Regions from separate parts of the Homo sapiens genome. Here region 1 is linked to region 2. Evidence: promoter capture Hi-C in 16 types of primary human blood cells and fetal thymus (Javierre and others, 2016). All regions are on one chromosome and are shown on one strand. The core of a region is centred on a gene start or on the middle of the fragment in contact, and the rest is flanking DNA. Distances in the headings are between cores, read along the strand shown. Region 1 has its middle 18 kb from the start of SPAG4. Region 2 holds the start of NFS1 (NFS1 cysteine desulfurase).

Region 1 (6,258 bases), core at 207-2,706, 100 kb before region 2:
TATATATGTATGTATATATTTAGTGCTTCAGACAAGGGAGGTCATGCTCAAGGCAGCCTACTCTCAAATCTTCATCCAAAGAAATCCTGAATGTTCCCTGGGTCTCTGCTGGATTCTAGAACTCTTGTCCTCACCCTTAGCTACTGCAAATGAATCTTGGTCCTATGCCCACAGCAATTAGTCCCAGCCCTGGCATCATTCCAAAGGAAAAATGTTAAATCACACCTGCCCGAGGCCTCTGGAATGGTTCAAAAGCTTAGGGAAAAGGGTGTACAGGGTAGGAAAGTGGGGTGAGTGAGGCATTACCTCCTCAGCCAGAAAGCGCAGTTTTGCCAGGAGCTTCTTGGCCAGTGCCACCTTCTTTTGCACATTGCGCCGTCTCAGGCCGCGTAGAAGTCGCAGTCCTTGCTTAGCCAAAAGGTTCTGGGAGGGCAAAAAGACAGCATGAGCGGAAGGCCCCAGCTAGGCGCCCCTGAGTCCCTTCCCGAGGCCGTACCAGGCTGTGCACCAGGAGTTTCCCTCGGCATCGATCCAGGGCATTGGGCCGGGTCATCGTCCTGCGCTCGGCACCGTGGCAAAACTGTCTGCAGTGAGCAGGGATGTGCACAGCAGACAGGAATCAAAGGAAAGGAGAAGGACAGTGACCTTGGGGCCACTTGCTCTGAGCTGACCTCCCACCCCCAGCCTCCCTCATAGCCCTCTCAGTCTTGGGCTCTGAAGAGGCACCCTTTCTCCTGCAAAGCTGGCCTATCTCTATTTGGACCACTCCCAAAAATCATTAAGGCCAGCCTTGCTCTTGAGCTCCAGAGCTCGCTAATACTTAACCACCTACTACCCTGGCTACCCCAGGTGTGGCCCATGGACCAACAGCACTGGTATCACCTGCAGGCTATTTAAAACTGTAGGACCTCAGCCCCACCCCAGGCCCTGCTGAATCAGAAGCTGCGTTTATGCCCTCGGGGATTCCTAAGCACATTGAAGCCTCAGACGTCTCCACCAGCTTGGCTAACGTATAGCTTGAACATTACATGCCCAAGCCAAATGCATACTTTCCAATGATCCCCCCCGCAAAACAAAACAAAACAAAACAAAAACCCTATTTCACCTCAGAACTTTCGAGTCATCTCTCACTGCTCTTTCTCTCTTATTCCACATCAATTCATCAGCAAATTCTTTATGCTCTACCTTCAAAAAATATCCAGAATCTGGCCAGGTGTGGTGGCTCAGGCCTGTAATCCCCGCACTTTGGGAGGCCGAGGCGGTGAATCACTTGAGGTCAGGAGTTCGAGACCAGCCTGGCCAAAATGGTGAAACAACTGTGTCTACTGACGCTGAAAGGTTGAGCATGGTGAGAACAGAAAAGTGACCACCTACAGCCTCCTACCTCACTGCCTCTCCTGATCAGGGTCCTTGGCTGAGTCCCTGCTTCCTCCCTGCCTCTAAATGCTGGAACGCTCCAGGTTCTCAGATTTCTCTTTTCTGTGCTCTGTTAATGCTGTTATCCAGCTCCATCTACATAATGATAGTTCCCAAATTGACATTTCCAGCCTAGAATTCTCCCCAGAACTCAACTCATATAGCTAACTGCCTACCACACATGTCCACTTACAATTCAATAAGAATTTCACAGTTAACATGTCCAAAACTGAGCTCCTACTATCTGCCTTCCCTCAGATCCCACCTCATCCCTGCTTCCATCAGACCTTCTCCTTTGTTTTCTGTTGAAAACAGATTTTTTTCTTTTTTCCAAAAAAAGAAGATTTTGGCTTGCATAACTATGCAGTTGGTGCAGCCTTAAACTCCTGGACTCAAGCCATCCTCCCATCTCAGCCTCCTGAGTAGCTGGGACTACAGGTGTGCACCACCACACCCAGCTAACTTTTGTATTTTTCATAGAGACAAGGTCTTCCTATATTGTTCAGGTTGGTTTCAAACCCCTGGGCTCAATTGATCCTCCCACCTTGGCCTCCCAAAGTGCTGGGATTCCAGGTGTGAGCCACCATGCCCAGCCCACAAGCCAAAATCTTAGCAAGTCCTGAGGTATCACCCCCAATTCCAAATTTTCTCTGGAATCCATTCACAGCACTCCATCTCCACTGCAACCATCCCCTAGATCAGTTCATCGCCACCTGTCACGTGGATTATCACAATAGCCCCTTTACTAATCTCCCTGCTTCCTCCCCCACTGATCCCTTTTAAGGATCTATGTGTTAGAGTGTATCTTTTTCCTTTTCAAAACATTCACTGCCCCTCCCCCCCCATTTCACTCAGAGAAGAAGCCAAAGTCATTAAAATGGCTTGTGAGGCTCCCACAGGATCTGTCCCTCCCCACCATCATCCTCCTTCCCCTGGCCTCCTCCAGCCTCTTCTACTATGTCACACTGCTGCAGTCACACTGGTTCTGTGCTCCTCCTCAAACACTCCAGGCATGCTGTCCCCTCCACCTGGAACACCATTACAGGCAGGCTTTCTCCTCCAGCTTCATGTCACCTTCACGGTGGCCTCCCCTCCACACCCTTTCTGAAATTGCAGTACCTCTTTCTAATGCTTCCTTGCTTCGCGTTCTTTCTTAACACTTATCCTACTTAGTATTTTTCTATCTGTTTACATGCTTATTTCACATGTCTCCACCCTTCCCCAACCTCTACACCCAAATGTAAGCTTCAGGGTTTTTTTTTAAAGTCAGGGTCCCATTCTGTCACCCAGACTGGAGTGCAGTGGCGCAATCATGGTTCACTGCAGCCTTGAACTCCTGGGCTCAAGATCTTCCCACTTCAGCCTCCCACAAGTAGCTGGGACTACAGGCATCAGCCATTGTGCCTGGCCAACTTCAGGGATTTTTGTGGGCAGGAATGCTTTTTCACTGATATTCCTGTGCCTAAAACAGTGTCTGGCATAGTAAGTGCCATAAATAGTTATCAAATAAAGAACCCTTTTGAGAAGAGGATCTGAAAATCACTTAAGTACCTGGAGCAGGTAATGGAATTCAGGGCAGTAGTGAAGGTCAAAGATGGAAGTAACTAGAACATGTTTTTTTTTTGTTTTCTTGTTTGTTTGTTTTTGAGACGTAGTCTTGCTCAGTCACCCAGGCTGGAGTGCAGTGGCGCAATCTTGGCTCACTGCAACCTCCACCTGCCAGGTTCAAGTGACTCTCCTGCCTCAGCCTCCCAAGTAGCTGGGAGGTACCCACCATTATGCCCGGCTAATTTTTGTATTTTTTTGGTAGAGACTGGGTTTCGCCATGTTGGCCAGTCTGGTCTTGAACTCCTGACCTCAAATGATCTGCCCGCCTCAGACTCCAAAAGTGCTGGGATTACGGGTGTGAGCCACCGCACCTGGCCGAACATGTTTATGTGGTTACAGCAATGACCTGGTAACTAGGGACCAATCAATGATGAAGGGGAGAAAATTGACAATTACAGAACTAATTCCTCCAGTGATGAAATCCAGATCACAGCTGTGGTCACTGGAGCAGGAAAGGAGGAGAGCAGATGGATGCAGAAGCCGGCAAGGAGGTAGACTGGGTGTGGGAAGGTGATTAGCAGGAACAAGTGTGAAAGAAAGGAGGCGAGGTTTGAAGAGACACGGGATAAGCCTCTAGGAGCGTGGGAAAGGGAACTCATGGAGATGGAAAACAGCTGAGGTGCCAGAGAATCAGGGGAAGCCTAACCCCCAATAATCTCATCAGCTCCCTGGATAGGAATAATTGTCTTCTCATTTTTCTGTAAGGTGCTGAGCAAATGCAGCTGCAAGCTGCCCTTGGGTCCAGACAGCCACCGAGAGTCTCCCTTGCCCTGGAGTTGGCCCAAGTACAGGCAGCAGTAGGAGTGGCTCTCAGCTCACCTGCTCCCAGCCACCAGTACTTCCAGTGCCTGCTTGAGCTGTGCACAGGCGCCAGGCCCCGGCTTGCGCTGCAGTCTCTCAACCTCCTGCAGCCCCTGGTCCTGTGCAACGTGGGAGAGGGTCAGAGTCTTGAGGGTCCCTGACTCAGACCTCTTGTAGACCACACCCCCACCCAAGGCCCCACCCACTCACGACCACACCTCTTGGCCTGCCCTTCTTTGGCTCCATCAGGTTGATGGCTCCATCTTTCTAGCCCGCTACTGGCTCCACCAAATGTGCGGCCCCACCATCCGTACCTCTACCCATCTCCTTCATCCAGTCCCTTCCTGGGTCCACCAATTCTGAAACTCTGTCCTCCCACAACTCCTGGCATCCTCGGTTCGCCCAGAAGCTGTGCTCTTTGGCCCTTGCCCCCCTGGCCTTGCACCAGCAAGGTGCTGGCTCTCTAGTGCCTGCCCATTAGCCCCACTGCAGAGCTTCCTTCAAAGGCTGCAGTGTCCTAGGCGTCCCTACGGCCCGGTCTCTCCCTGTGGGCGCCAGCCTTGCCCTTACCAGCCTCTCGGCCACTTTGCGCACGCAGTTGCTGCTCTGCAGGCGCCAGGTGTGGTCCTCCCAGCAACTCCACACATGCATGCATGGCTTGCAGTGACAGAGGGGCAAGCAGAAGTATGGCCTGGCAGATGGAGAGGAGGCTTCGCGGGCATTCTGGGTTCCTGGAGACCTCCCAAACCCCCCCTTCCAGCCACCGGCAGCACTCACCCACTGCCGTCCATGGGCTCAGGCCGCTGAGCATGGGTCCCCAGTTCTTCCTCCTCTTTCTCCTCCTCTGGCCTGGCTCCCAGCAGAGGCTGAGCCTCCACGGCTGCACCCTCAGTTCCCTCCCCAGCCCTGGACCCTCGGCCCAATTGCTCCTCCAGACGGCCTGCGCGACCTGCCCCAGAGCAGCAAGGGTCAGTGGGCGCCAGGCTGAGGGCTGGAACCCCCCCTCAACCACCTCTGCCTCAACAGAAGTCAGAACCTGCCCCTTACTGAAAGTCAACACCCCTTCCAGGGTTCTAAGGTCTGAAATGGCACTCAGGGGTTCGGCTAGGCCACACACCAATGGAGATCTCGAAGCTGATGGGCTGGGAGGCCACGGTGGGGTCGATCATGGTGGCCTCGAAGAGCACACCGAAAAGCAGGAAATCTTCACAGGGCGCCAGGACATTCTGGGGGAGGCCATCAGGCTGGAGTCAGCACCTACTCTCCCAGGGAACAGCCTGGACTATGCTTGGCCGCATTGCCCACAGAAAGAAGTGCGACCAAGGCTTGGAAGTCACTGCAGGTTTCTTACTCCCTCTCCCTCCTCCCGGCCCCAGCATTGGCCCTGGGTATGGGTCCTCTCTCCCACAACATGTGTGCATATACCAGAGCCCATGTGGGCACACACCTCACTCTTCGCCCAGGCCCCCAAATTGAGACCCCTGTCGTGGTGTTTAATGCCTGAGAGTGGATTCCACCTTCCAGAGCTGAGGTGACCCCGCCCCCTTTGCTACCCCCCAGCCCCCACCTCTGGCAGCGGCAGCAGCTCCTCCACCTCCACCTCCATGGCACGGGGGATCTCAGGCCCCTCGGCACCGGGGCTGGCGTCCAAGTGCTGCGGAACCGCCTTTGGGGTCTGATCCCTTCTGGCTTTCTTTTTCTTCTTTCGGGTGAGCCGGGACAACGTGGACCCCTGCTGGGCCTGGGGAGGCTCAGGTTCAGCTCTCCCTTCCAACACCTGCATGGACACAGCCAGCAGAAGGCGGCCGCGGAACCAAATGCCTTGGCCAACGCCTTCGTTGAGACCTTGAAGACTATCCCGGAGCCCCGCGCCGGGGGGCGAGCCATAGAGGGGCACCCAGGCCGGGCCGAAGGTAGGGTTAAACCCCGCTGTGGGGAACAAGAGAAGCGTGTTGGAGGGGAGCGTGGGGAGGGCGAGTGCTGGTAAATCTCTGCACCTCACCCTGATCTCCTCCAAGTATTCGGGGGTGAGGGCAGGGGAGGGGGGCTAAGCCGCTCTGAAACGGAAGAAGTTGGCCAGCAGCTGCGGACGCGCCGCTGTGGAACACGACCTGGGGCGCCTCCAAAACAGCTCAGCGCCCCAAGGAGCTGGAAATCGCGGGAGCCCGGCCTCGGGGGACGCAGCCTGAGCCCTGGGGGCGGGGTCGGGATTGGGGCGGAGCTACGGGCGATCGGCCAGGCCTGGGGGTCGGGGAAAGGAGTGGACCGGCAGTGTCAGCGTGTGCACAGCTGTAGAAGGGTGGGACTGGGCTGGTTACTGGACAGGCGGTTGTGGTCAGAATTTTGCCAACGGAGCCAAACCGATGGTGGGGTTCACAGTCTGGGGGCGGCTTGAAGCAGTTTGTTTTGCGGGCGGACCAGCCCTCCTAGGCG
Region 2 (5,528 bases), core at 2,312-4,811:
CAGCACTTTGGGAGGTCGAGATGGGAGGATCATCAGGTCAAGAGATTGAGATCATCCTGGCCAATATGGTGAAACCCCATCTCTACTAAAAATATAAAAATTAGTTGGGCATGGTGGCGGGCACCTGTACTCCCAGCTACTCTGGAGGCTGAGGCAGGAGAATCACTTGAACCTGGGAGGTGGAGTTTGCAGTGAGCTGAGATTGCGCCACTGCACTCCAGCCTGGCGACAGAGTGAGACTATGTATCAAAAAAAAAAAGAAGAATGGAGAAAAGGTTCAATCACCATTATCCACTCTCTGAAGTAACTGCCAGACAAAAAAAAAACAAGTGGTTAATGGCCTGAGGGCCACCTCCTTTGCTATCCAACTGCCTCACTCAACTCAGACCAACAGCAGCAAAGACTTAAGAAAGAGTAGACTGCAAAGGGTTAAAGGAAGCAACAAATCAGAAAGACTGCAAGCCTTCTCTTCACAATGGGGTGGGGATGGATGGCTGCGAAATACATATACGAGTCCAAATGATGGAGGGACACTATCTCCTAGGTCAGGAAAGCCCACATACACCCTCTGGTTCCCTTCTCTTACCTTAATTGCTATGTTGTTGGATTCAGTAGCACCACTAGTAAAAATGATCTCACGAGGATCAGCTCCAATCAGAGATGCTACTTGCTGCAAGCCAAGAAACAGAGATATATAACATCAGTTCCCCAGGCAGAAATAGAGCTGCAGACACAGGTGGGACAGCCCTGGAGCAAGAAGAGCTCCACTGCATTCCACCAAATTGCCCTGGATGAAGGTCTGCACCTACAAGAATCAGATTCTAGTTATATCCCAGATCCCAGGCTCTTTTCCAGCCCAATGCAAAATAATAACTTTTTTTTTTTAATGAACTATTGGCCAGGTGTGGTGGGTCACTCCTGTAACCCCAGCACTTTGGGAGGCCGAGGTGGAAAGATCACCTGAGGTCAGGAGTTCGAGACCAACCTGGCCAACATGGTGAAACTCCATTTCTACTAAGAATACAAAAATATTAGGCCGGGCATGGTGGCTCAAGCCTGTAATCCCAGCACTTTGGGAGGCTGAGGCAGGTGGATCACCTGAGGTCGGGAATTCAAGACCAGCCTGACCAACATGGAGAAACCCCGTCTCTACTAAAAATACAAATTTACCCGGGTGTGGTGGCGCATGCCTGTAATCCCAGCTACTTGGGAGGCTGAGGTAGGAGAACTGCTTGAACCCGGGAGGCAGAGGTTGCAGTGAGCCGAGATCGTGCCACTGCACTGCAGCCTGGGTAACAAGAGCAAAACTCTGTCTCAAATAATAGTAAATAAATAAATAAATAAAAATACAAAAATATTAGCTAGGCATGGTGGCGTGTGCCTGTAATCCCAATTACTTGGGAGGCTGAGGCAGCAGAATCACTTGAACCCGGGAGGCAGAGGTTGCAGTGAGCCAAGATCGTGCGCCACTGCACTCCAGTCTGGGCAACAAATGTGAAAACTCCATCTCATAAAAAAAAAAAAAAAGAACTATTGAGCTCTTACTATTTATAGTACTTCTTACTTACAGATGTTGTGGTAATAAACACTTTATCAGCATTGTCTTATTTAATCCACCCAGTAACCCTACAGAGTAGAAACTACCACAATCTCTGTTTTAAATGAGGAAAATAAGGCTCAAAGAAATTAGATAACTTGCCCAAGTCATTTAGCCAGGAAATATGGGAACCAATCAAATGCCTGCAGTCAAACTCCAAGGCTGCTCTTTGAATCTCTTCCAGAAAGAATCCAAAACCATTTCTACCTCCATGCACACCTACCAAGAAAGAAATGCCTCCCACAGGCCACTGCCCCTCTTTGACCTTAGAACCTCCTAGACTCCTGTGTACTAACCTGACGAGCACGTTCCATGGCTGCCTCACTCTCCCAGCCATAAGCATGTGTCCGGGAGTGTGGGTTCCCATAGTAGTTGATTAGGTAAGGGAGCATGGCATCAAGCACCCGGGGGTCCTGAACACAACAGAACAGATCATTTTCCTTGAGCGCATCGTCAATTCAGGTCCCACTCCACCCCTCAGACCTGGCCACCCTGCCTTAAGACACTCTCAACCCCTCAGGCACTGCCTAGAGGAGGCCTCAAACATTCTTTTGTTCCCACAAAACTACCCACCAAATATCAACCTAATACACTCCCACTCACAACCCATCCCAACTCGGATTGTTCTGCCTCCCCTCAGGTAGTCTACAAACACTGCCTTGTTCCGACATCTGTTTCTGCTGGTGTTTCCATTCCTGCCAGGTAATGTGATCTATAAGGGGCTGGGACAGGACAGGGCCTAGGCAAACACCCCTGGTCACACATTGGTGAAAACTTGCATTAGTCTTTTAACCCGTTTAATACTTGTCCAAGTTCACACAGTTACTAAGTGGCCGTTCTGCTCATTCCAGAGCCCATGCTTTTAACTAATACTATAGAGCCTGCGCTGAAGTGATCTGACCAAGGTCAATTGCTAGTGAGTAGTAAAGCCAATGCCAGTGGCCTCGAATTTAAGCCTCCCGACTCCTCGCTCAGTGCTTTTTCCAGCACACCTTCACGGCTCTCACTTCTCCAGGGATTCAGCCATTTCTTTGCGTGATCACGCCCATCATTTACTTCCTATAAGCAGCCTTGGGAAAAGCTTCATCCTTACCAGAGGAGTTGTAGCTTGCACATCCATATAGAGAGGTCGCAGCACTGGCCCCACCTCCGGGGCAGCGGCTGTATCTGCGGGAACCGCAGACTGAGGAGCACGGTCTCCAACTGATAAAAAATGGAACGGAGTAGCCAAGTAAGACCGAAGGCAACTATGAACGCATGGCATCCAAAGGGCAGAAGGAAAAATCTGGCTGGAGGTGAGATAAGTGTAAGGGATGCTAGGGTCGAATCTCAATGGAAAGAAAACAACACCAGATACCTGACACGCTGTAAAAGGAGGTAAGGGAGAGGGAGAGAGGGTTCCTGGAGGGGGTGTTGAGTTGATATTCAAATGGTATCGTAGGAAGGAAGGCTCTAAAGGGCAAAGACGTTTAGAAGGAACGTGGAGCCAGAGTAGGTGCAGTCCCTTCTGACCGAAGGTAACGGTCTGCACGGGAGCCCGGAGCAGCATCTGTAACTTGGCCAGGAGCGGTCTGAAGGACGCGCCTCCACGGCTCTGGGGGCCTGTCGCGCAGGGTGCGAGGGGTGGTGCGCCGGGGTCAACCGTTCGGGGACCCGCCTAAGAAAGTTTGAGGGATGTGTCATTTGAGAGAAGGGTCAGAGGGTCTGGGCAGCAGGGTGGACAGGAAGGCTCCGGAATATTCAGTTGCGTCGCCGCGCGGAGGGGACAGGTCCGCGCCTCCCGGAGAGCGGGACCCGAGCGTACCGCGCAGGCGCAGCCCCCGAGTGGGCGCCGCGGGCTTCGGCCCTGGAGCCGCTGTCACCGCCACTGCCGCCCGCCTCCAAGCGGCTCGGAGCAGCATGGTCCCGCTGGCAGAGCCCACCTTCCGAAGCCGCTGCAGTCCTGGGCCCCAGGCTCCCGGAAGTGCTGCCCGGCGCTCCGGAAGCGATTCATCGGGCCGCGAGCGCCCTCCCCGTCGTTTTCCGTGAGAGACGTAGAGCTGAGCGACCCAGCCCGCGAGCGAGGTGAGGTAGGCGCCGGGCGACGCGGGGCCGGAACGCGAAGAGGGTGGTGGAGTCGGGCTACCCACTGATTTTCCTTCCCTTACTTCCCCTGAGCCCTTGGGCCCACTTCCCAGCCTACCGCTTCCGTCCCCGCCCGACTCTTGGGCCAGCGCCTGGGCCCACACTTTCCTATCCCCCGCAGATGCCGGTGGCCGTGGGTCCCTACGGACAGTCCCAGCCAAGCTGCTTCGACCGTGTCAAAATGGGCTTCGTGATGGGTTGCGCCGTGGGCATGGCGGCCGGGGCGCTCTTCGGCACCTTTTCCTGTCTCAGGTGAGGGGCGCGGGCGGTGATCTCTGGGCAGGACAACCAGACCTTCCGGCCCTGCCCCATTCGGCCTGGAGCCTGAACACAGCCTCCTTCTTTCGACTTCCCTCTCTGTCCCCTCGCGAGCCAGACTCATTCCAAACCACCTTCAATCTGTAAAGTCAGGTTGGAAGCGTCAGTGCTTAAGAATTTGAGCTTTAGAGTCAAAATGCTTTCTGGCCCTTTTCTTACTGGTTCGGTGACTTTAGGCAAGTTGGAGACTGGGTTTCCTTAAGTGTAGAATGAAGACAGTAGCATCTAACTTATAGAGTTGTAAAAATTCGATCAGCACACTTTGCACAGCATCTGGCACATATTAAGTGCTCAGTAACTAGTTACTACTGTTGCTTTTATTTTTTTTTCCAATTGCGCATAAGGAAAGAAACTCGTTCAGCGGTTTTACTATTCTGGATACAGGATACAGAGATAAAGCAGTTAAACTTTACACTCTAAAGGTCATTTTCACATTTAGAGGCTGTTATTGCCATATCCCTAGATTGTAAATTATCATTTACAGAGCACTTACTCTATGTTAAGCACTGTGCTAAATACTGTAGTTTTCAAAATCCTGTAAATAATGTTGAGATGCCCATTTTACACTTGACACTATGTGTAAATTGTAGAGCTGACTCTTGAACCCCCACCTTACTCCAAAATCATTAACACCAAGAAACTAAAAGACAGATGTCTTTATTGGGTCTTAAACTGCAGGCAACACCAGTCAAAAAAGCTGGTTTCTCTATGTATTTTACACTGCATCTGCTGCCTCCCACAAACTGAAGGCAGTTAATACGACATCCACCAGAAAAATACCCTGGAGACCCAGATGGATCTTTTTCCTTCTCATTACCCACCCCAGGTAGTAAGATATAATATCCAGTAAGTGGAAAATCAGATGTAGGGGTTGCTAGACTAGTGTTAGCAAAAAATTGGAAAGGAGCAGTTAATACTCTTTCTGATATTTTTGTTACCAAATAGCTCCATCTTGGTTTCCTCCTCAGGATCGGAATGCGGGGTCGAGAGCTGATGGGCGGCATTGGGAAAACCATGATGCAGAGTGGCGGCACCTTTGGCACATTCATGGCCATTGGGATGGGCATCCGATGCTAACCATGGTTGCCAACTACATCTGTCCCTTCCCATCAATCCCAGCCCATGTACTAATAAAAGAAAGTCTTTGAGTAGTCAGTGTCCCTCTCTTAAAGGAATATTCTTCTCTCAGCCTATTATCCAGCTTTGCCAAGGATCTTCTGCACTAAAGAGATGGACTAACGTAATGACTAGGGTTAGTATCTCTTTCACAAGGCCTGCCTCTCTTAATCCAAAATTGGAAAACTTGGGAGTGTCTAGTATTTTCCATAGATACTATTCAACTAATTACTCAGTACAACTCTGTGCTTGTTACTACGGTCACCATTTTAAAGGAGAAAAACTACTTCAAAAAATGGATTTATAAGCCGAAATTTCCTCAAGGTCACACATTGCATTATTTCCAAAGCAATGTTCATCCTGAGGTTGGTTG

What was found. The method cuts DNA at HindIII sites, captures the fragments that hold promoters and counts their contacts. A CHiCAGO score of 5 or more calls a contact.
Region 1: a fragment that was not itself captured here is called in contact with the fragment with the promoter of NFS1 in region 2 in 6 of 17 cell types (activated CD4 T cells, naive CD8 T cells, total CD8 T cells and 3 more); the score reaches 9.1 in activated CD4 T cells.

Annotation. Positions count from the first base shown.
Region 1 is chr20:35,595,171-35,601,428 of GRCh38, forward strand. It overlaps the pseudogene FER1L4. Among named protein-coding and RNA genes, the nearest start is that of SPAG4, 18 kb to the right of the region's middle. RefSeq lists an enhancer at 3,982-4,482. The HindIII fragment of the contact is 2,406 bases long and covers 254-2,659 here.
Region 2 is chr20:35,695,791-35,701,318 of GRCh38, forward strand. NFS1 (NFS1 cysteine desulfurase) reads right to left here and starts at 3,562. Exons shown (of 13, transcript NM_021100.5): 1 at 3,402-3,562; 2 at 2,691-2,800; 3 at 1,894-2,010; 4 at 587-670. The coding sequence starts at 3,498. ROMO1 (reactive oxygen species modulator 1) reads left to right here and starts at 3,615. Exons shown (of 3, transcript NM_080748.3): 1 at 3,615-3,666; 2 at 3,843-3,973; 3 at 5,008-5,190. The coding sequence starts at 3,843. The coding sequence ends at 5,116. RefSeq lists enhancers at 3,129-3,788, 3,789-4,448, 4,020-4,239 and a silencer at 3,340-3,529. The HindIII fragment of the contact is 3,611 bases long and covers 2,677-5,528 here.